Linked DNA regions of Homo sapiens: all the other regions are linked to region 4. Evidence: promoter capture Hi-C in human tissues and cell types (Jung and others, 2019). All regions are on one chromosome and are shown on one strand. The core of a region is centred on a gene start or on the middle of the fragment in contact, and the rest is flanking DNA. Distances in the headings are between cores, read along the strand shown. Region 1 has its middle 14 kb from the start of TBCEL. Region 2 overlaps GRIK4 (glutamate ionotropic receptor kainate type subunit 4). Region 3 overlaps GRIK4 (glutamate ionotropic receptor kainate type subunit 4). Region 4 holds the start of GRIK4 (glutamate ionotropic receptor kainate type subunit 4).

Region 1 (5,567 bases), core at 2,526-5,025, 500 kb before region 4:
CCATACATAGAAGTGGAATTGCTGTGTCAAATGGTAACTTTATGTTGAACCTTTTGAGGAACTGCCATTCAGTTTTCCACAGTGGCCACACCATTTTACATTCCTATTAGCAATGCAGCAGGATTGCAGTTTCTCTACACCTTAGCCAACACTCCTTTATAATAGCCATTGTAATGGATGTGAAATGGTATCTCATTGTGGTTTTGATTTGCATTTCCTCAATGACTAGTGATTTGAGCATCTTTACATGTGACCATCAGTATATCTTTGGAGAATGTCTCGTCAAGTCCTTTTCCCATTTTGTGATTGAGTTGTTTGTTTTTGTTGTAATTGCTGAATTGTAGGAGTTCTTTTTATATCCTGGATATCAATGCCTTCTAAGCATATGATTTGCAAATATTTTTTCCATTCTGTTGTGTTTTCACTCCCTTGATAGTGTTCCTTAATGCATAAAAGTTTTTAATTTTGATGTTGTTCACTTTACCTATTTTGTTGTTATTGTCTATGCTTTTGGTGTCAGATCTGAAAAATCACTGTCAAATTCAATGTCATGAAGCTTTTCTTCTATGTTTTCTTCTAATAATCTTATGGTTTTACCTCTTATGTTTAGGTTTGATTCATTTTGAATTAGTTTTTGTATAGGGTATAAAGTAAGGGTTCAACTTCATTATTTTACATGTGGATATCCAGTTTTTCCAGCACCATTTGTTGAAGACTACCCTCTCCCCATTGAATGGTCTTGGCACCCTTGTTGAAAATTAATTGACCATATATGCAAGGGTTTTTTTTCCAAGCTCTCTATTCTATTCTATTGGTCTTTGTCTGTCTTTATGCCACTACCATGTTGTTTTGGTTACTGTAGCTTTGTAACAAGTTTTCAAATTAGAAAGTGTGAGACCTCTAGCCTTGTTCTTCTTTTTCAAGATTGTTTTGGCTATTAAGGATCCCTTGAGATTCCATATTAATTTTAGGATGGATTTTTCTATTTCTACAAAAAAAGTCATCGGAATTTTATTCAATCTGTAGATCACTTTTCACAGTATAGACATCTTAACAATGTTAAGTGTTCCAATCCATGAACACAGAATAGCTTTTCATTTATTTGTGTCTTCTTTCATCTCTCTCAGTAACATTTTGTGTTTTTCAGTGTAAAAATATTTTGCCTCCCAGTTAAGTTTATTCCTAAGTATTTTATTCTTTCTGATATTATTATTATTATTATTATTATTATTATTTTGAGATGGAGTTTTGCTCAGTTGCCTAGGCTAGAGTGCAATGCCACAATCTCGGCTCACTGCAACCTCTGCCTCTCGGGTTCAAGCAATTCTCCTGCCTCAGTCTCCCAAGTAGCTAGGATTACAGGCGACTGTCATCATGCCCAGCTAATTTTTGTATTTTTAGTAGAGATGGGGTTTCACCATGTTGGCCAGGCTGGTCTTGAACCCCTGACTTCAGGTGATCCAACCACCTTGGCCTCCCAAAGTGCTGGGATTACAGGCGTGAGCCACTGCTCCCAGCCTCTTTTTGATATTATCATAAAGGAAATTATTTTCTTGATTTCACTTTCTGATTGTTCATTGTTAGTATATAGAAATGCAACTGATTTTTGCATCTTGATTTTGTGTCCTGAAATTTTGCTGAGTTTGTTTTTAGTTCTAAAAGTTTTGGGAGGAATTCTTTAGGGTTCTCTACATATGGGATCATGTCATCTGGAAACAGATAATTTTTACTTCTTCCTTTATAATTTGGATGCCCTTTTCTTTCTTCCTTTTTTAACCTAATAGCTCTGGTTAGTACTTCCAACTCTGTGTTAAATAAAAGTGGCAAAAGTGAGCATCCTTGTCTTGATTTTTTTTTTTTTTTTTTTAATGGAGTTTTGCTCTTTTTGCCCAGGCTGGAATGCTGGAATGCAATGGCTCGGTCTTGGCTCACTGCAACCTCCGCCTCCCAAATTCAAGTGATTCTCCTGCCTCAGCCTCCTGAGTAGCTGGGATTACAGGTATGCACCACCATGCCCATTTTACAAAAAAAAATTTTGTAAAAATACAAAAATTTTTGTATTTTTAGTAGATACAGGGTTTTGCCATGTTAGTCAGCCTGGTGTCAAACTCCTGACTTGGCTTCCCAAAGTGCTGGGATTACAGGCATGAGCCACCGCGCCCGGCCCCTTGTCTTGTTGTTAATCTTGGAAGAAAAGCTTTCAGTCTTTCACCATTGAATATGATATTAGCAGTGGATTTTTCACATATGGCCTTTATTATGTTGAGGTAGTTTCCTTCTATTCCTGTTTTTCTTTTTAAGTGTTTTATCATGGAAGGGTGTTGAATTTTGTCAGATTATTTTTCTGCATCAGTTTAGACAATGGTGTGTCTTTTTTCCTTTATTTTGTTAATGTGGTAGAATTACATTGATTTTTCATATTCTAACCCATCTTTGCCTTCTGGGGAAAAATTCACCTTGATCTTGGTGTATAATCGTTGTGATATACTTTAAATTAGGTTTGCTAACATTTTGTTGAGGGTTTTTGCATCAATATTTCTAAGGAATATTGGTTTGTGTTTTCTTGTAGTATCGTTGTCTAATTTTGGTATTAACATAAACTGGTCTCATAGAATGAGTTAGGCAGTATTCCTTCCTCTTCAATTTTTTAGAAGAGTTTGAGAAGGATTGGTGTAGTTCTTTAAATGTTTGGTAGAATTAAATGATTCCATCTGGTCTGGGGTTTTGTTTGTTGGGAAGTTTTTGATTATTAATTCAATCTCTTTTCTAATTATAGGTCTATTCAAAATTGTAATTTCTTCATGATTTAGTCTTGGTAGATTGTATGTTTCTATAACAGTGTCCATTTCATCTCACTTATCCACTTTGTTGGTATACAACTCTTCCTAATACTCTTTTATACAGATGTTTCTCAACTTATGATGGGGTGTCTTGTAGAGAGTATCATTGGATTCTGTTTTTTTAAAAAAAACCCTTCCACTAATCTATACTTTTTTAATTGGGAGGTTAATTCCTGATAGAAAAGGACTAACTTTTGCCATTTGTTATTTGTTTTCCATATGTCTTAAACTTTTTGTTTTTCATTACCTCCATTACCACCTTCTCTTCTATTTAGTTGCTTTTTGGTAGTGACATATTTTGATTCCCTTTTCACGTCCTTTTGTCTATAATCTATAGATGTCTATAATCTATAGATATTTTCTCTGTGGTTATAACTGGGATTACCTATAACATCCTAAAGTTATATAAATCTGTTTTAAATTGATACCAACCTAACTTCAATCACATACAAACCCTTTGCTCCTTTACAGCTCTGCCCTTATTGTTACTAATATAACAAATTACATCCCTATACCCATTAATATAGATTTATAATTATTTTTATGCATTTGTCTTTTAAATCCTGTAGAAAATAAAAAGTGAAGTTGCAACACAAGATTGCAGTAATACTGGCTTTTATATTTTCCCATGTATTTACCTTCACTGGAGATCTTTATATCTTCATACAGGTTTGAATTACCATCTAGCATTTTCTTACCTGAGTTTCTATTTGTTGTCTCCCATCACCCCAGGTTTTCCCTTACATGAACATCTCATGCATTTTCACATTCCTTGGGCCTTTGCTGGTGCTGTTCCCTCTTCTAGGCTTTCAACATCAGGAAGACCTGGGTTTCAGTCCCATATGGGCCACTTCATAGAAAAGTAATCAACATCTCTAATCCTTGCCAGAAAAATAGGGATAAAAATAGAACTTATTCATAGATTAAATGGCTAAAGTATGTAAAGTTCTTAGTGCTTGGCACATAGTTAAACATTAAATAAATGTTAGCTATTAAATTCTTTCTATCTTCTTAAGTGAGTTTCTATTGAACATCAAGACCTAAATGAAAGCTCTTGTCTTTAAATCTGAGAAGACACGATACGTCCATTTATCTGTGAAGACAGCCCCACCTACCAGACAAAATTGAATTGCTCCTTCCATTATGTTCCCAAATCCTTTATTCATTCTTCTATTATAGCTTTTATAAGTATCTTTTTTTATATGTGACCCCATTAGACCCAGAATTTGTCAAGGAGAAGGTTTAAGGCAAAGGCCTCACAAAAGAAAGAACGTCCTTGTCTCTTACATGTGTGTGTACATATGTATGTGTATGTGTATATATTTGATATATATGTACAGCAAATATTATAGTGGGGAAAAGGAAGTGAAGAATTGGTTATATGGCTATGGCAGGACAAGACTCAAGAATTTACAGAACCTGGGGCCCTGTCCATACACTCCCTTGCAAATATCCCCAATTCTAGTCCCCTCTTGTTGTTCTCTGTCCATCTTGCAGGGCAAGACCTGAGGTAAACCTAACTGTGCCAGTACCAGAGTTGCTGAACACTGTCAGGGAGAATCACACACCTGAGCTGACTGGCTGCTCTTTAACCTCATCTCCAACTGTAAACGGGTACTTGGTACTGCTTGCTCATCTTACTGATTTCCTTCACTCCTTAAGATGACTTTGTGTCTCCTCACTTTCCCGTGTCCCTCATCTTCCTGCTGAGCTCACTTCAGAGCACATTAGGAAAAATAAATGCCATCAGTGTGATGTACTTATCTTCTTCCTCCTTGCCGACCTGCACCCAGCCCCTTTCTCCTTCTGTTAAAATGAAGGGCCTGTCCCTTCACCTATCAAAGGCCAGTTCCACCATTTGTGTTTGGAGTTTTTCTTTCCACCGTTCGACTTCCCCCTTCTTTTCATGCGTTACCATCTCTTGTCTCTAGTAGATCATTGCCATCGCAGTGTCAGCATGCTCTAGTATTTCCCTTATTGACTTCACATGCTGTACCCTCTTCTCTACTGCTCTATTTTTATGCTCCCCTCTCAGCAAAATTCCTTTAAAATAGTCACTGCACATGTTAACTCTGCTTCCTCTCTCACCATTCACTCTTCAGTTTACTCCAATCTGGATTCTCTTTCTACCACTCTCCACTGAAACCATGCTTGCGAGGCTTGCCAATGGTTAGTTAGCTGTGTTCACTTTAAATTCATAGTAGCATTTGATTCACTTAGCCCCTCCCTTCTTTTTGGCCCTTATACATCACTTGCTTCTGGTTTTCCTCTTTCACACTGACTGCTCCTTTTTAGTTTTCCTCCTGTATCCTACTTCCAAATGTTAGAGTTGCTTAGGGTTCAGTTCTAAGGCTTCTTCTCTCTTTTCTTGCTCCAGTTTCTCCTTAGGTCATGTCATTTATTGCCCTAATTTAAATAACATCTTCATGTTGATAAATTCTAAATAAGGAGCCCAGACATCTCTGGGCCACCAGACTTGCATATCCAGACTTGCATATCCAACTGCCTATTAAATATTTCCACTTAGATAGCCCATATGCATCTCAAATTTAACATGCCCCAGCGAGAAATCTCAGTCCCCTCCCTTCCTCCTTTCCCAATCTAATCTTCCCTATTTTAGTAAACAGTATCACTTTCCACACCAGTTACTAAAGAATCCAGTAAGATGGAATCATTTTTGATTCTACCAAATGCTGTCTACCTCCAAAATATACTTATCTCTATCTC
Region 2 (5,791 bases), core at 917-3,416, 470 kb before region 4:
AGTCACCATACAGAGAGTTAAGCACCTGAAATCGGATGCACTGGTAACGCAATATTCCAAAATTCAGGAAAAAGAAGAAATAGGGATTATTTAGGCTTCCATTCCCTAACCCAGCCTCCCCCTCCAAAAAACACAAAACAAATTAACAGGACTGAGAAGATGACAAAGAAGAAAAGGAGAGGAGGAAAGAAAAGGGAAAAGAACATTAACAAAAATATACAAATCCAGAAAAGAAAAACTTCCCTGTTTAATTTTTTTTTTTTCTGTAAGAACTAGACGGAGGGTACATTGGCCCCTGACTAGGGGGAAATTCAACTGATGATTCCACCAATTCATTGGACTGGTCTGGGTAGGGACCCCCCACCCTATACTCTTGTTATTTTGGCGAGAGGGAAAGACCCACTGGGAGAAGATGGGTCCTTGTGCCCAGGAGGGAGGGCCGTCCTTTGCCCTTTGGGTGCAACGTTTCCGGGTGGACCCTGCTCCCTGACCGGGCGCGGTCTCTGGCTGGGGCGTCAGGCTCCTTGATCTTTTTGAAAAGTGACTGGATCCGAAATCTGGAGAGGTGTCGACGCTGTACAAGTTCCGGCTGGCGGCTGACAGCAGCGCCCGCCCCGCCCCTCCCCTCCCGCCCCGCCCGGCCTCTGCGCGTCCTGTGGCCTCCGGGACTACTCGGGCTCGCTGCTGTTGGTGGTTTTCTCCCACTCCAGGCTCTCCTCGCTGCGGGCGGGCGACGGCCGTGCCCGCAGGCCCTGGAAGCGGCGGCACTCGGGGCAGACGCGGATGTGCGTGCAGCCGCGGGCCACCAGGGCGGCCTCCTGCGCCAGTCTCTGCGCGAGCTGGTCGGGCTCCCCTGCCCCGCACAGCTTCCCGTTGCTGAGCGTCGCCGTGCCCCGCGGTCGGCGCTCCTCGGGGATGGGGGGCCGGGGCGGCGGGACTGCGGCGCGCCGCCGGCGGGGGTGGATACTGTCCTGACACAGGATAATGCTGCGCAGCTCGGTCACCATCTCCTGGCAGACGGACACCTGGAGGAGACAGCGAGGTCAGGGCCCAGCCTCTCAACCAGCCCCCGTGGGCCCCCTGCGAGTCCGCTGGGATGAGGGATGAAGGGGGCAGCGGTCACAGAATCGTGTCATCTTAAGTATGAAGATGATAAAAGCCTTTCAGTCCATCTCCTCACTCCACTCCCATTTAATGTTCAAACACCCTCCATACCATAATATTCAAGAGCCCCACCAGCTGGTCTCCAATCTTTGTTTGAACACCTTCAAAGACAATGATCTCACTTTTTTTTTTTTTTTGCACATTTCCATTAAATGCTGCTTCCTTTTACCGAGCTAACAATTTCTGTCCCTGAAATTTTCATTCATTGATCCCAGCTAAGTTTGGACCTTGAAGCCTACTAAATAAATAATTCCTCCACCACATGTCAGTCTCTCAAGTATTTGAAAAGGCCACCATGTCTCTATGAACATTCTGTTCCTTAGGCTAAGGATTCTTATTTCTTTTAGCCAACTGGTTATAGCAGGAGGTGGATGTATCCTCATGATAACCAAAACAAGAGGAGGGTAATACAAAGCACAAACAGTAGAGTATGTATCACACCCGGTGGGTCTGGGGCAGACTTGAATTCAAACCCGCTCATATTTCTGTAGCAACATCTCACACCGTGTGAGATAAAGGCCACAAACATCAGCCAAGCCACGCCGCCGCTGAGTGCATTTGCATCAAACTTACAAGGAACTTGGAACTCTCCAAGCTTTTTAGGTGTCAGAACTGTGGATGAAGAATACAGGATAGGGCTGGGCACAGTGGCTCACACCTGTAATCCCAGCACTTTGGAGGGCCGAGGTAGGCAGATCACTTGAGGTCAGGAGTTCGGGACCAGCCTGGCCAACATGGTGAAACCCTGTCTCTACTAAAACCACAAAATTTAGCTGGGCGTGGTGGCGTGTGCCTGTAATCTCAGCTACTCGGGAGGCTGAGTGGGGAAAATCACGTAAACCTGGGAGGCGGAGGTTGCAGTGAGCCAAGATACCTGCCACTGCACTCCATTCCAGCTTGGGCGACAGACTGAGACTCTATCTCAAAAAAAAAAAAAAAAAAAAGAATATAGATGGGCCTGCATTTTTGTTTGTTTGTTTGTTTTTGGTTTTTTTTAGACAAGAGTCTTCCTCTGTCGCCCAGGCTGGAGTGCAGTGGCACAATCTCAGCTCACTGCAACCTCCACCTCCTGGGTTCAAGCGATTCTTCTGCCTCAGCCTCTCCAGTAAGCTGGGATTACAGGCACGTGCCATCACACCCGGCTAAATTTTGTATTTCTTGGTAGAGACGGGGTTTCACTATGTTGGCCAGGCTGGTCTTGAACTGCCGACCTCATGATTCACCTGCCTCGGCCTCCCAAAGTGCTAGGATTACAGGCGTGAGCCACTGTGCCTGGCCGATGGGCCTGTATTACTACTATTACTATTATTATTATATCCATTTCACAAATGTGGAAATGGAGGCTCAGAGAAGTTATGTATGTTGCCAAAAATTGACTAATAGCTGACTCTGAATTTGGACCTAAACCTATCAACTCCAAGCCTGTACATGCTCTGTTGAGTGCTCTACTCTGAGTTGAAAGGACACTTTCCTAGACCATATGGGAGCAGAAGTCCTCAGTTCTTTAATGTTCTTTCGTCCAATTCTACCAATGGCATAGTTGTTCTACCACAGCCAAATCGCTAACATAGCACTGACTCTTTATTTTAGCTATTGGGACTGCTCTAACTACTTGCTGAATTTTTCAATATACTTCCAGACCATGGGTGAGCTTTGGGGAGAATAACAAAATGTGAGGCAGCTACAGAAAGGTGATGTCACTTAATGGAATAAGGCCTACATTAGTTTTCCCGACTTGGATTATAGGCCCCCATCACACCCCCCAATTGTTAACTAAATAGCAGAGACTCTTGGCAAGTCACTTAACCTCTCTGTGCTTCTAGTGATAACTACAATAAAAACAGTACCACCTGCCTAATCTATTACATGTGACAATACTATAACAATGTAGATTTATTGACTGTCTACTGCATGTCAAGCACAGGGATAAAAGACACAGTCTTTACTTCAGGCAGCTCAATCTCTAGTAGGGGGCTGATACCAAAATAACTGCAGCGTGGTGTGTAAGTGGTTCATGCATAGGTTACACTGGTGTCAGGAAGAAGGAGGGTGACCAATTGCTGGGAGACAGCAGGAGAAATGAGGAAGGACTCACAAGGAAGGGAACACCTGAACTAGGTCTTAGGGAATAAATAAGACCACCACCTTTTAAGGGGTGGGCAAAAGGAAAAAGCCAGTAAAGCTGGAGACAGCAACAGGAGGGGAACCAAGAGAGCTGGGTGCCACGCAAGGCAAGGGAAGAGGGATTCTGAAAGAAAGTATCCCCATCATCAAGGGACACACCAAAGTCCAATAAGGCCCAGTAGATTCTCTTTGGTTTGGTCCACTGGGAGGGGTCAGACCTTTAAGCATCGGCCTTTCGGTGCAGGGGTAGGGAGGAGCCAGGCTGCCCTGGGTTTCGGACCAAATCGGGAGTGAGGTGATGGAGACTGAGATTCTCTCAGCTGGATCCCCTTGGTTTGGAAGAGGAGAGGGATAGAGCAAGAGCAACAGTAATCTTCCTATTATTTTGAAATATGGCAGACACGTTCACAATGGTGGACTGGAGAAAGAGCAGGCAGAAAAAAATACAGGGGCAAAAGAGGATAATCCTGGAGCAGCTGAGGAAAGACAGGATCAAGGAAGGGACAGCAGGAGGACTGGGGTATCTGCTGCAGCTGCAGGGTGGCTGAGCTGTGGGGAGATGTTTAGTGGGGGTTTTAATTCAGGGCTAGCCACTCCTGATTTCTTGGGAGATGGGAAGTAAAATGAAGCTCTACGCATGCAGAAGCAGAGGGGCTTGAGGAATGGGCAACGGCGTGGAAGTCCTACAAGGAGACAGGAAAGAGGCTGAGCACAGTGGACCAGGACTGGCAGGCGGTGTTGTGTTAAGGCCCCATGTGAGGCCAGACTCCACGGACTTCCAGGGGCACTGTTTGTCCTGCTGTGAGATATTTTCCCAGTGCCAATTAGGAAAGGTTTTTAGGAAGATTCAGAGTTGGGAGACTGAGATAGAGGCTAATGTAACTTTTAAAAAAAATCTAATAATGCAATTAACATGTAAGGATTTATATATCTTCCCTGGGGTGGGTTGGAAGAAGAGTGGCATAGTCTTCTTCCTTCTTTTCAAACTGTTCAACCTGGGTAAAGTTTATGTTAACCCTGTCTCTAAGCCACAGCTGGGGAATTGAACTTATTCAAAATCCCCGAGAAGGGGGATAAAATTCTTGGGTTCGCATGAGTCGGGATATCTCTAAGGATCTTTCCCTGCAAGGCAAAAACATACTCAGAATGAAAGGACTGAGGTTGTCTTTTCCATAGTAACCTGGTACTTTCACCTATTTTTCTCAACTATATCTTAAATGATAGTTCTAGAAGGCTTTGTTGTTCATAATAATTACTAAGTAATGAAGCATTGATCCAAATCCCCTCTGCTGGGCACTGGGATTCTCTTTGCTGCACTTCCTGTGGTAAGCGTCTGAAATAACCTTATATGTGCATGAGCCTGTGAACTTCACCCCATCTGCCAACACGATCGATCATACCCCTTTGAAAGTTTACCTCAGTTGCTTCTGAGTGTCTGAGAGTCCATAAAAACTCCAACATAGCCATAAAAATGGCCACGATTAAGCCACAAATAAGAACCACAAAGATTCCACCAATATTCTCCATTCCCAGGCCTGTAAGAAAGTGATAACAAATGAAAAATATTGTAAAAGATCAGGAAGACACAATCATTTTATCAAAAATACTAAAATCATTCAAACAAGAACTTGAGTATGGTAGATGCTCAAGTAGACACCCATGCATCTACTTGACATGTAGACACCCAGTCCTTGAAGATATTTAATTATTTATCTGGAAAAAATGCAGCATAGTTGAAATAAAATGGAAGAGAGAGATCTTGCCATCAATCAAGGACACTGGCAAGAAGCCTACCAAAGGGTGTCTGGGGCTGGGAGGTGAGGACCATTTAAGAAAAGGGCTCGGGCAAACTCTTGACAGCTTATAGAGAGAGACATGACACCAAAATACCTGTCAGTTCTAATAGTTTCATTAAAGTTTTACTCAATCTTCCTAACATTGTATTTATGTGATATAAAAGCAACTGTTTTGACCAAACCATGGATAGAAAAAGTTATATTTACCTATCTTTGTCAACATGTTACTAAAATATTTATTTGGAAAGTAAAACTTTTTATCCCACCAAACGAGTGGTTCACAAACCAGCTGCCATCAGAACTGCCTAGAAAGCTGACTAAAAATATTGATTCCCAGTCCTTACCCCAGACCTACTCAATCAGTATCTCTGGACATGGGGCCCAGGAATCTGTATTTTTACAGAAGTTTCACAGGTGATTCTTTTCTAGTCATTCCTAAAATTAGTTTACAAATTGGTAATTTTAGAAGCATTGTGCAAGTATGTAAGTTCCTGGGAGTCAGACATTGTTTCTGGTCATGTCCTCATTGCAAAGCATGATACCTGGCACACAGTATATAGTCAATAAATACTTATAGGATATGATATGGCTGTTTCATTTCCACTGTGTCAAACATTGAGTTCAGCTATGTAATTAAATGCTTTTTATTTTTGGCATTAGAGAAACCCAAACACAAAACACCCTGATTCAACTGGGGCCACAATCAG
Region 3 (5,654 bases), core at 1,260-3,759, 320 kb before region 4:
TGGGGACCCTCATCCCTCCTGACAGTCGGCTAGATTTTCATAATGTATTCTGCAGCCCTGGGCCACTGGGAGACCCGTTTTGTCATGACTATTGAGGTGGATGGAGGAGAAACCAGACCAAGGATGATTACATTTTTCCTCTTACATAGTGTTCATCTCCCAAGGAACTCAAATAATTTTGTGAGCTTCTTTTTTTGTTTGTTTGTTTTTTCTTTGAGTCAGAGTCTCACTCTGTCACCCAGGCTGGAGTGCATTGGCGCGATCATGGCTCACTGCAACCTCCGCCTCCTGGGTTCAAGTGATTCTCCTGCCTCAGGCTGCCAGGTAGCTGAAATTACAGGCACCCACGACCACACCTGGCTAATTTTTGTATTTTTAGTAGAGATGGGATTTCGCCATATTGGCCAGGCTGGTCTTGAACTCTTGACCTCAAGTGATCTGCCTGCCTTGGCCTCCCAAAGTGCTGGGATTACAGGCGTGAGGCACCGCGCCTGTAATCTTATAGGATTCTTATAGGAACACTTGCAGGCTCCCTGAGGAGCAGGTCGGGGGTAACTCTATCATGGTTGTTCCAATGGGAAGCTGGAGGGCAAATGCTCAGTGACTGGGGCAGGAGTCTCAGGGCACAAGGGAGCTCAAAGCCTCTTTGGTGAGGCTCCTTCTTCCTCCAGGCCAAGCTATATTTCCTCCTTCACTTTCAAGAGGATGATGTGGCAAGATGACCAACCCATCCTACGCCCCACTGCACACACACAATCACACTGTCCAAGTAAGAGTGCTGCTGCATCTCACCCCTGCCTAGACGGATGCGACCCACGGAGCGAGCCCGCTGCTTACAGCGACAGGCTGGGGGCAGAGGGTCCGGGCGGGGTCACAGTGGGGAGCTAAAACCCGCTTTGTGAAATCTGCTGTCCTAGAGATAAAAGACAAGAGATCCTTGGTTTTTAAGGCCTGATTTCTGGGTAAACATGGAGTTCGTTGCTGGAACAGCCGCTCAATAAAATCAGGGATTGCTCTGCAAATCCTCCTGAAATCAAGAGATGGCAGAGTGTTGCCAAGCTCTAGGGGCTGGACTCCCACGTGCACACTGAGTCTCCCAGAGGCCCCGTGTGCTCCCTGCCCACTCTGCTTCCCATCCTTGCTGAGGCCCTGAGAGGCCCTGTTGTGCCCTCCTGGAGGGAAGAGTACGGAGCCCCAGGGAAGCATGAGGACAGAGGCCAGGCCTGATGGAACGCCTGCCTGCCTGGGCCATTGGGAAGGCAAATGGGCAAAGGGAACAGGCTTTCCTGAAGCCTTGCTGCTCATTGATCAGTGTGGCTCCAATGTCACAGGAGTTGGGGCTGACAGGTGAGCTCAGGAAAGACAGCCCTGAGGCATCGAGCAGAACCATTTGCTAATAATGATCACTACACTACAGGCAGAGCTTCCTTCAAAAGCATGGCCACACACACACACACACACACACACACACACACACACCTATAAAGTGTTTTTAATTAACATACCCAGTATTGGCAAGGGTGCTATAAGACACCTATATGCTGCTGGCGAAAGTGTAAACTGTTACAGCCTTTCTAAAATGCAATCTGGCAAATCATATCAGAATCCTTAAAAGCATGCGTACCTTTAACTCAGTAATTCCACTTCTAGAAATGTATGCTGGGGAAATATTCATGAATGTGTATAAAGATTTATGTACAAAGATGTGCACCTCAGCATTATTTATTGTAGCAAAAGATTTGAAACAACCTGTATCTCCAACAATAAAGTGATGGTTAAATAAATTATGGGAACTCTGTATGATAGGAAATGAGGCAGCCATTAAAATATTTCTAGAAAAATGTTTAATGACATGGGGAAAATGCACGGCATAGAATTAAGTGTGGACAAAAAGCGCTTACAGAAAAGTTTGTGCAGTATGACAATAATTTGGGGGAAAAATGTGTCTGTAAAGCAGAAAAAAACAGACATCAAAATTTAACAGTGGTTAAATAGCTCTGGGTGATAGGATTGTGAATAATTTTTAGTTTCTTCTATGTGCTTTCTGTTCTATATGTTCCAAAATTTCAACAATGAACTAGTAATGCTATTCGAATAAAAAAAATAATAGTGCAACATCAGATGCTGGGAGCTATGGAGGGCACAAGGCTGGCCCCCAGAAGCTTCTACCTGGGGGCTGTTCAGGCAGGCTCCAGCTACCACAGGGGGAACCTGTGTATTCTGAGCTACCTTCCACAAGGGTGGTGGAGGGACATCTATCTACTAAGCTGAAGCTCTCACTGCCTGCTCCCAACCTTCCCTAAAGAGGGCCCCTCTCCTCTCGTGAAACTTGGTGGAGCTTTTCTACCCTTAATGACTTCATTGATCATGGCTCCAGGCATAAGAGAAAACAGAGGAAAAGGAAGAAAAGAGAAAAATATTGTGTTTCCGTGTGTGTGTGTGTGTGTGTGTCAGAGAGAAAGAGAGAGAGAGAAAGAAAGAGAGAGAGATAATGTGAGTTGGGTATACGCACACAGACAGACATGGCTTTGGAGCTCTGGAAGATTACTATAGCAACGGGCTGAAGGGACAGCCCTCAGTACTGAGAGAACTCATTCAAATCTCTTATTAACTCTGAGTCAAAAACGAGCTGAGGAGGGGCAGCTGGGAGGGAGGGAGGGAAGGAGGGGAGACAATCATCTGAGTGTCTGCGGGCTCCTCACAGCTTGGCAGAGGTTAACGAGGAGCCTCGCTCCCCCAGTGGAAGACGGCAGGTTGTGCTTAAACGTGCAATTAAAATGGCATTAGAAGAGGCCAGTGCGCCTGGAGAGGTTGGGGGAGCCGCCAAGGAGCCTGGAAACGGGGCCCGTTCTCTCCGAAGTTCATGCCCAGCCCAGCCACCAGCCCAGGAACTGACGTCAGGTGACTCCGATGCTACCCAGCTATTTCCAGCAGTTTGTCCTGTGTGGGGCCCCTAGGCTCCCGACGTCTCTCTCTCTTGGATCAGCCTCACTCACAGAGTTCTGGTTTCCAGTGTGCATGTTCTGACTCAGGGGCTGGCACTGCCCCTCCAACTCCAGGAGCTTAGGAGACACTACCTGATTTGCAGATAAGAGAGGGTTGTGCAGGCTCAGCCCTGCTCCACTCAGGGCTGGGCCTTGGACGCATCTGTTCATCTCCCAGAGTCTCAGTTCCCTCTTCTGTGAGGGAAGACATTATACCTACCTCATGTCATTGCTGAGAGCTCTACGCTGGGAGATCGACTACACAGAAGTGCTGTGTAACTGTTGTGCACCGTGTCAGGACTAAAGACAGAGCTGGCATTCAGCAGTACACACTGGTGTGATGGTCCTGTTGTTAAACTACGGAACCATTTCTATACCATTTGGCAGACAGCCTCTGCCCAAGCCCCTTAGGTGCCCCACCCTAGCCCCTCCTAGGAACCCGCAGACCTCTCCACAGAGCCCTTAGCAGGGTCTAAGTTTGGCAGCATCTAGGTGTCTCCGTTGCCTACTGCCCTGCTGCCCCAGTGCTGAAAACGACATCACCCTCACCCTGCTTTCTTCTTTCATTTTTCGGGAACCGCTCATTGAAAACAGAAGCACAGAGAGAGGTTTGTAAGAGTTCAGGTCCAGCCCGGGGCTCCGTCAGCCTCAGCTCAGGAGGACCCTCAAGGCAAGGAGGGGGGAGGGTGGAGCTCAGCAGGGGGTGGGGGAGAGAGGGAGGCTCCCACCTTCAGGAGGATGGTGTGGGACATGGAGGCGTTGGCGTGGATGATGATGGTGGCGGTCTTGTCGTCCCGGATCTCCTTGAGGAGCGGGGTGGGGTCCCGGGTGTCATCCAGCATGCGGACGGACAGCGTGTCCTTGGAGATAAGGAATTGCCGGAGCAGCTTCTCTAGGTTTAAAAGGCCTGGAGGGGAGAGAGGATGAAGCCCCTGAGGGTCCACAGAGCTGCCTCTAGAGACACCTGGGCAGAAGCAGGAAGGCACGGAGATGTGGGCTGGAAGTGGGGTCGGGGGGTCTGGCCCCACTGACAGCATTAAGGAGACAGATCATAACCTGAGCAGGTTTCTCAGCCTCTTTGGGCTTCAATGATCCCATCTAAAATAAAAGAACACTTCTGAGTCCATCACCTCCCCTGACTCCCTCGAGAACGTTCTTTTAAGGTAGAGACGGAAGCTCCCTTGGGTGGAATAAGAGAATCCCCCCTCCTCCCCACCACCCTCGAAAGCCGGATAGGATGCACAGAGACCAAGACCTGGGTTCAGAGACCACCAGGCCTGAGTCTGCTTCCCTAATTCATGGACTTCTCCATGTGGCCAGTTGTCTTGGCCTCAGTTTCCTCAATTGAGAAGTTAGAATTATCACAGCAGCCAGCACTCAGGTCCAAGGCAAGGATTACAAGAGGCCACGTGTGAAGGGCTCAGGCCCGAGCCTCGGACACATTAAACCCTCACAAATGTTACACTGGGCTCTGTAAGAGCCTTTGTTTTCATTTTGGAGGTGGAGGAGCAATTCCCTTAAGATCCCAAGGCCCAGAAAACAGATCTAGTAAAACGCTTTGAACTCCTCAGAGCCTTGTGGCTGCATTAAGACAAAGTATTATGATGATCATAAGGGAACAGGCTTTGAACTGCACTCCAGCAGGCAAGAATCTGGGCCCAGAACAAAACAGAAAAAAGGGACTGTGCACCAAGGACCTACCCCTGCCCTCCCTCACTCCCTCCTCTCCCACCCACCAGCTATTTGATGCCTAGGGCCCTGGTGGGAGGAGGGGTTCCAGAATGATGTCACTGAGACATGAGGGTCTTAATTCTGCCTTGTCTTTGGAAAGGCATGCCAGCCAGCAGAGGGTATGTGTGTATGGGGTGGGGGAGGGAAATGTGGGGGGTGGGGGTGATGTGGGGGTGCAGGAGGCAGAGTGTGGTCTCAATTCCCATGGAAAAAGACATCACGTAGGCGTTTGCTCCCAAAAGCAATGATAAGGGCAACATTTATCAAATGCTTATTGTGTTCCAGTTAATGTGCGAAACATTTTACATGGCTTATCTCATGTAAGTCCTCACGACAATCCCATAAAGTATTATAATCCCCAGCACAGAGGAGAATCGGAGGTAGGAAGGACGAGCAACTGGCCTCACACACTGGGATGGCGAGGGAAAGGTTGGCTTTGTAACCAGTCCAAGGCCCCGTGCTGCTGGTTTCTGTACTGGCTGATGGGATATTCAACTCGGGGATGGCTTGACTACAACCCCGGAAGACTTTCCTGCATAGGTTACTCACCACCCAGGCCAAAAAGGAGGGAGAGCCTCCCATCCACCTCCTCGCATTGCAGATTGGTGACATGACTTACTCAGCAAACAGAGACACGGGGACACAGCTGGGACCAGAATTCTGATCTCAGTTTTCTGATTTCTATCCAACCCTCTTACCATGAGACCAGGCTGCCTCGGAGGACAAACTCAGCTGGAGGCAGTGGGCACAGTGCCTGGGAAGGTCCAGAGACACGTGTCTCAGGGATTAGGAGAGGGAAGCTGATGCTGGTTGTGTGTCTGTGCTTTTTTTTTTTTTTTTCTTCATAGGAAGGAGAGGGTAGTGGAGTTGGAGCCCAAGGGACTGGCCTGATAGAGACAGCTCTGGGAAGGTGCTGCCAACCCGTCTTCCTGTCACCTG
Region 4 (6,016 bases), core at 1,549-4,048:
AACTGAGGAACAGGCAGGACCAAGGGTGGGCTTTCTGAGAACCAAACAGCTGAGACCTTAAAAAGCAACAGCAACGAGCCCAACAGCACTGGACTGAGCGTCCAGGGGCCTGGGACCCAGCTGTGGAGCCTTGGATGAGGCATCCAGCCTCTCTGAGCCTCAGTTTCTGTTGGGTCATGAATGCCTCCTTATAAGGCTGTCTGTAAGGAGCGATCAGATGCTTGCAGGGCTGTAGTAGAGATCAAATGAAGTAATTGTTCTGAGAGGCATCTGGAATGCTGCAGAACCCCATACACACATAAGGGATTAGTACTATGCAGAAGCACCAAGAGATGCATCCTTCCCACACACGCTTGGCGCTGCCCACCCTCGCCAGCCACACAAAGGCCAGCTTCCGCCTCGCTGCTTCTCTTGCCTTCTGAGCAGTCTCTCCCCCAACCCAGGGCCGGTCCCCCTGTCCTCCCTTCCATCTCTGGATGGCTGAGAACCACCTCAGAAGCAGCTGAGCTCCTCTCTCCTGGATGCCCTGACTCCCTGCAGCTGGGACTTTCTCCTAGAGTCTCTGCCTCTCTCCCGGTACTAAAGTTCCCTCTCCATCCTAAGGGAAAACCAAAGTGGAAATCAGACCACGAAGCCGACCCAGGCTCTCGGAAGAATTTTCATTGCTGGGGAAGACAGCAGCCACCGATCAAGATGCCCAGGTAGGGGGATGGGAAAAACACAGAAAACCAAGATCCCCTCTCAACCTCCCCTCCCGAGCATCCACCTCTTCCCCACCCGGAGGGACCAGTGCTGCCTCTGGGTTTCAGGTGGCAGGTCCAGAGGAGGACAGAGGGGTGGAGCTGGTGAGGCAGGCGGGAGGCTGGTGGGCAAGCCCGGGCCACAAGGAATGAACAAAATATGGAAAATTAAACAAACCCAGACACTGTAATGTGTGCATATTAGATTAACTCTCCGAAGGGTCGTGACCTTGAGGAACACATCTGGCCAGTGAGAAAAATAATAAACCTGATTAATGATGAAGCCTGAGCTGCAGCTTCAGCAAATAAAGCCAGCATGATGACGCCCAGTGGAATTCCAGGGGCTGCCATCCCTGGTGGGACCGGAACACAGTGGACCTCGACAAGCCCCTCGCCCCTGACCACGCGAGCACAGACAGTCAGGGAGTCAGGCAGGACCGGATTTGTCTCTCAGATGCCCACTACCAACCCAGGCGGCCTCTCTCCCCGGAGATACCACGCCCGCAGTTTCCCGGTGCTCCTAGAAGTGTCACTACCAACCAGGTGACCCATAGGGAGTGAAAGTGAAGGTAGTTCTTTGTTCCTGGCAGGGCTCAGTCCTCCTGACCAGCCCTCAGACCTCTTGGCCTGGTCTTGACAGCTGCCCACTGCCTGGCAAAAGGGCCCAGCTGTGCTCAGAGCTCCCCTCCTCTTCCCAGACAACCCAGACCCTTGGGAGACATGCCCAGGAGAGCCACTGGAGGGAGGCAGGGAGGTGGCACCGCGTGGCATCACCAGACAACAGCACCAAGAGGAAGATGGCAGCATCAAGTACAGATGCCAAGAGCCACGCAGCCCAAGGTCCAGCCCGGGAGTGGCTCGGCCCGCATTGCCCCACCACTGCCAGGCAGACGGGCCAGAGGCGCCCGGGGCCCAGCCCCCTCGGCCGCCTCCTCCACCACCCCAAGGCCCTCAGCCAACTCTCCCCAGGCTCCAACTCCTCCCCTCACTTTGCTCAGCTCAAGGGAGCCAGGGAAAGAGACACAGGTGCTCTCAGTGCCTTGAACCCCCTGTCCCAGCTGTCGCCTGCACGCCCTCCACCCCAGCCAGGTCGGAGCGCACAGCTCTGCCAGTCCTCACTGAAGAGAATCTAAATCAGCTCCCCTCCCCCTCCGCCCCAGCCCCCTCCCCCATCACGCGCCCATTGCAGGTCTCTAGAGTTTCTCCCTCACTTCCCACTCGGATGAACTAGGGTGGGATGGGTGGGAGCCCCATTCTCCCCGGGAAAGAGGATCATTTCTGATAGGACGCTGGTTCCCCCAAGCAAGGCGGTGTGCAGGGTGGGGGGGTGTGGTGGTGGCCCGAGTCCAGTGCAGGGGCAGGGGGCAGTCGAGGCAGATGGCAGTGAGGAAAGGGGGAGGGGGCTTGGTGGGATGCCAGGCTGAGCCGGGATGGGGGGCTGCAGCCGGGGAACAGAGGCGCTGGGAGAAGCGGAGGGTGACGAGGTGTAGGGGAGACGCGCCAGGCTGGGAAGGGGCTGTCATCCCTGCAGGGGACAGAGGCAGGGCTGGGAGTTGCACGGGGAGGGGGAGGACCAGAGCGGGAGGACCGCGAGCCCGGGGAAGGGATGCGGAGGGAGGGAGACGGACCGGGGTGAAGACTGGAGGAACTACGGGAGCAGAGCGGTGGGGGGTTCGGCGGCGAATCTGGAGACGCAGGGACCGAAGTGCCAGGGACCGGGCTGGCGGGAGGCGGGAGCGGGGAGGAGGGCGCGGGGGCGGGGGCCGGGGCAGGGGTGCGGGGCCGCGGCCCCCGAGGGCAGGAGCGGCGGAGACGTCAGAAGTCGGGGTGCGGGAAGGGCCAGCGCGGAGGGGACTCGGGGGCGCGGGGGCAGCGCAGGGAGCGGGCCGGGGGCGCCGCGGGGGGCCGCTGCCCTTACCTGGTCGGCTCCGCACTCCGGGGGCTGAGCCGGGGGCCGGGCGCTGCCGGGCCGGCCGCGGGGCTGCTGTTGGCCGTTTTTCCTCTTCCGCAGCAGCCGTGGCGGCTCCAGCCCGATCCGCCCGCAGCTGAAGGCAGTCTGTGTCCGGCTGCGAGCGAGCCCGGCGCGGGGAGCGCGGGAGGAGCGCAGCGAGGCGCGGGGCGCCGCCCGGCGGGCAGCTGGGGAACTGCTGCGGCCCCGCGCACGGCCGGCCGGGGGGGCGCCCCTTCGGGGCCGGGCCGGAGCCCCGCGGGCAGCTGCACGCGCCCCCCAGCGCCCCTCGGAGCGTCGCCCGGGAGCCCAGGCGCGGGGGCGGCGGGGGCGGCGGGAACGGCGGGGGCTGCTGCGGGCAGGGCGGGCGCGGGTCCGCGCGGCCGGGGGCAAACTTGCGGCTGCCCGGGGGCCCGGGGCCGAGCGAGAGGCGCCCGGCTGGGGAGCGGCGCCCGGCAGAGGCTAGGGGCGCGCGGCCAAGCGGGCTCTGCGAGGTACGGACCTCAGGTGGGGAACCCGGCGCAGCCCGCACACTCCACCGCCCTGCGCAAAGGGGCAGCCCGCCCCGGCCCCGAGGAGTTATTAGCCCGGCGGCTTCAGCGAGCAAGGGGCGCCCCCTGGTGGCATTCGGGAAACAGCGCGGGGGACGAGCGTGCCCCGTTAGAAGAGACTGCGGCCTCAGTGGTGCGGAAGATGGAGAGGTGGAGGTTTCATGGGACGAGACAAGAGCACCTTGTTCAGGAGACTGAAGAGCAACAGCTTGCATGGAGTCATTCCAGAGCACTGTTGTATACATACCAACATCTTGGGAGGATCTCATGTTACGCATGAAGATCCTGAGGCTAGGAGAGGTGAAGGGACCAGGCCAAGAACACACGGGGAGCAAGTGGCAGGACCCAGGAGGCAACCCCGCTTTCTGACGCGCGGTTCATTTCAGTACACCGTGTGGTTCATCCTAATACAACAGAGTTGCCCTTAGGAGGAGGCTGGGTGAAGAGGGAGTCCTGGGGGAATAGGAGGGAGGGCAAGGGACACGTGACCCCCTCAAACCTATTAGCTCCCTCTTATCCAACCCGCAGAGTCTCTGTCTTGGGCAGACCACCAAACTGATCACACCGGCCCTCTCACCTTCAATGGCCTGTATCCCCACACCCAACCACCAGCACTCCCACAATCTCATTAAGCTCTCTGTGAAGGGTTTGTTCACAGACGTCCTTGGTCAGGTCTCACGCATGAGGCATACTATCGGGACTATAGACTGTTCTGGACGTTGCATTCCCCGGGGAGGGCTGGCTGGCTAGCCTGGGCGCGTACTGGGCCTCCTGCTTCAGGAGTCGTGCCTATCCCTCCCCCAGCTCCACACACTGGCTGGATGAATGCCATATGCGAACAGGGCTCCATTCCTCCAGCCAGACATTATTTAGCACCTACTGTTTGCCAAGACTATACCGCTTACACAAGTGTGATTCCCAATAATCAACTTTGCAAGGTAGGTGTTGAGGTGACACTAGTCCCATTTTACAGAGGATGTTAAACCTGTTAAGGTTTAAGAGCACCTGTAAGCCAGTGACACAAAACTAATTTCTAATTCCAACTCTATTCCCCCACTCTGGAACCCCCTCTCTTGTGCAAAATGGACGGAACAGCAGCATAAGCCTAGCAGAAAGTGTACGGGGCTGGGAGGAGGGAGAGGCATCCCTGTGATCCCAGCAAGCGATTTCACTTCCCTGGACTTCAGTTCCCATAACTCTAAAAGTGAGGGAAGCAGACTAGATGATCTCTCAAGCCGCGCAAACTCTGAAATGCCAAGCATGGATCCCTGGCCCCTTTCACGGGAAGAATGCAAGATCAGCGAGACCAGAGAGGCTTATTAAGTGTTTGGAAAGAAAAATACTATATAAGTGAAATGCTTCATCATATTCTTTTGCCTGGTGATCTCATCCTATTAACCAGGGAAGCGGGGAGGAGCTTTTGGCAGGTCAGAGAGATTGCTGATGGCTCTGGAGATAGTCTTGGCTGTGGCCTCCTGAGGGCCCTGGTTTCTCCCCTTCTTGCAAGAATGGTTCTGACTTTCTTTTCCTTTCTTAAGGCCTCTGCCCCTAGAAGCAGGGAGTCCCTACCAGTCACAGGGTGGACAACAATGTCAGCGAAGTCTGCCGGTACAGAAGTCTGCTGTTAGCCTCAGCCTGGTTGCCCCCACCCACTCTCCTGTCTCCCCTTGCTGCAAGATGTTGAGTTCTTTGGGATACTTACTACTTGCTCTCCACCTTTTTTACTACTGAAAAAATTCAATTCCAGGCAAGCTGACTTCTCAAGCTCAGCTCCAGGGGTGGGAAGGTCAGTCCAGATCTTTTTTGGAAGCCACAGGGGGAGAATGTCAGAGGGCCACGAGGCTGGCCCCGCTGATCTACTCTGAGGCTGCTGCCTTGAATGAAAAAACAGAAGGGTTGGGAAATGGGGCTCCCACCTCTAGAACCTCTCATCTGAAACATCCCTCACAGCCAGCTGCTATGCTGTGCAGGACGGATAGGATTCATTGTGCTTGGGCGCCATGGTGGTCGGAGCGCACAGGAAGGAGTTTGTTCTCTTGGATTTATCTTTAATTTCTTCCATCTATCTGCCTCTGGTATATCCACTAAGAAGAATATTTGATCTTAAATGTACCTGCCATGTCTTTTCCGAAGGTCCCTTTGAAGGTTCATCACACATTCATAATGATCCCTCTGCATAAATGGGGCCAGCTGAGGCACACGGTGAGCAGGTGACTTGTTGTCACCTTGCTGAGTGGCACATATCATATCATGTCACCATGTCTTAGAAACTATTGCAGCGGCCCTCTAGCTCATCTCCCTGCCTTTAAATTGGCTCCCTCCAATATGTCTACAAATGGCTGCCAGAGTGATGTCTCTAAAACAAGCTTCACCACTTTACACCCTTGCTGAAAACCCCTTCATGACCTCATATTGAGTCCAAAACTTTTTTTTTTTTAAGACGGAGTCACTCCTCTGTCACCAGGCTGGAGTGGAGTACAGTGGCGGAATCTCGGCTCACTGCAACCTCTGCCTCCCGGGTTCAAGCGATTCTCCTGCCTCAGCCTCCTGAGTATCTGGGACTACAGGCACCCGCCACCACGCCCGGCTAACCTTTGTATTTTTAGTAGAGATGGGGTTTCACCATGTTGGCCAGGCTGGTCTCCAACTCTTGACCTCGTGATCTGCCCGCCTCGGCCTCCCAAAGTGCTGGGATTACAGGCGTGCACCACCGCACCCAGCCTCGAGTCCAAAACTTCTTAGCACAGCATACAAGTTCCCTGCTTACTTCCCCACCT

The links. The method cuts DNA at HindIII sites, captures the fragments that hold promoters and counts their contacts. A contact is called where the count stands out against the background at its distance.
Region 1: a fragment that was not itself captured here is called in contact with the fragment with the promoter of GRIK4 in region 4 in 3 of the 25 tissues and cell types used here (H1 embryonic stem cells, dorsolateral prefrontal cortex and liver).
Region 2: a contact is called between a fragment that was not itself captured here and the fragment with the promoter of GRIK4 in region 4, in 2 of the 25 tissues and cell types used here (dorsolateral prefrontal cortex and lymphoblastoid cells).
Region 3: a fragment that was not itself captured here is called in contact with the fragment with the promoter of GRIK4 in region 4 in 1 of the 25 tissues and cell types used here (lymphoblastoid cells).

What each region holds. Positions count from the first base shown.
Region 1 is chr11:121,006,889-121,012,455 of GRCh38, reverse strand. No RefSeq gene overlaps it. Among named protein-coding and RNA genes, the nearest start is that of TBCEL, 14 kb to the left of the region's middle. The HindIII fragment of the contact is 4,795 bases long and covers 1,378-5,567 here.
Region 2 is chr11:120,981,138-120,986,928 of GRCh38, reverse strand. It overlaps GRIK4 (glutamate ionotropic receptor kainate type subunit 4), which reads right to left. Exons shown (of 21, transcript NM_014619.5): 20 at 4,705-4,823; 21 at 1-1,025. The coding sequence ends at 669. Among named protein-coding and RNA genes, the nearest start is that of TBCEL, 40 kb to the left of the region's middle. RefSeq lists a silencer at 826-905. The HindIII fragment of the contact is 5,250 bases long and covers 1-4,791 here.
Region 3 is chr11:120,830,089-120,835,742 of GRCh38, reverse strand. GRIK4 (glutamate ionotropic receptor kainate type subunit 4) reads right to left here. Exons shown (of 21, transcript NM_014619.5): 7 at 3,713-3,891. Among named protein-coding and RNA genes, the nearest start is that of TBCEL, 190 kb to the left of the region's middle. RefSeq lists an enhancer at 1,024-1,524. The HindIII fragment of the contact is 5,752 bases long and covers 1-5,385 here.
Region 4 is chr11:120,508,530-120,514,545 of GRCh38, reverse strand. GRIK4 (glutamate ionotropic receptor kainate type subunit 4) reads right to left here and starts at 2,798. Exons shown (of 21, transcript NM_014619.5): 1 at 2,659-2,798. RefSeq lists silencers at 2,728-2,927, 3,108-3,187. The HindIII fragment of the contact is 7,551 bases long and covers 1-6,016 here.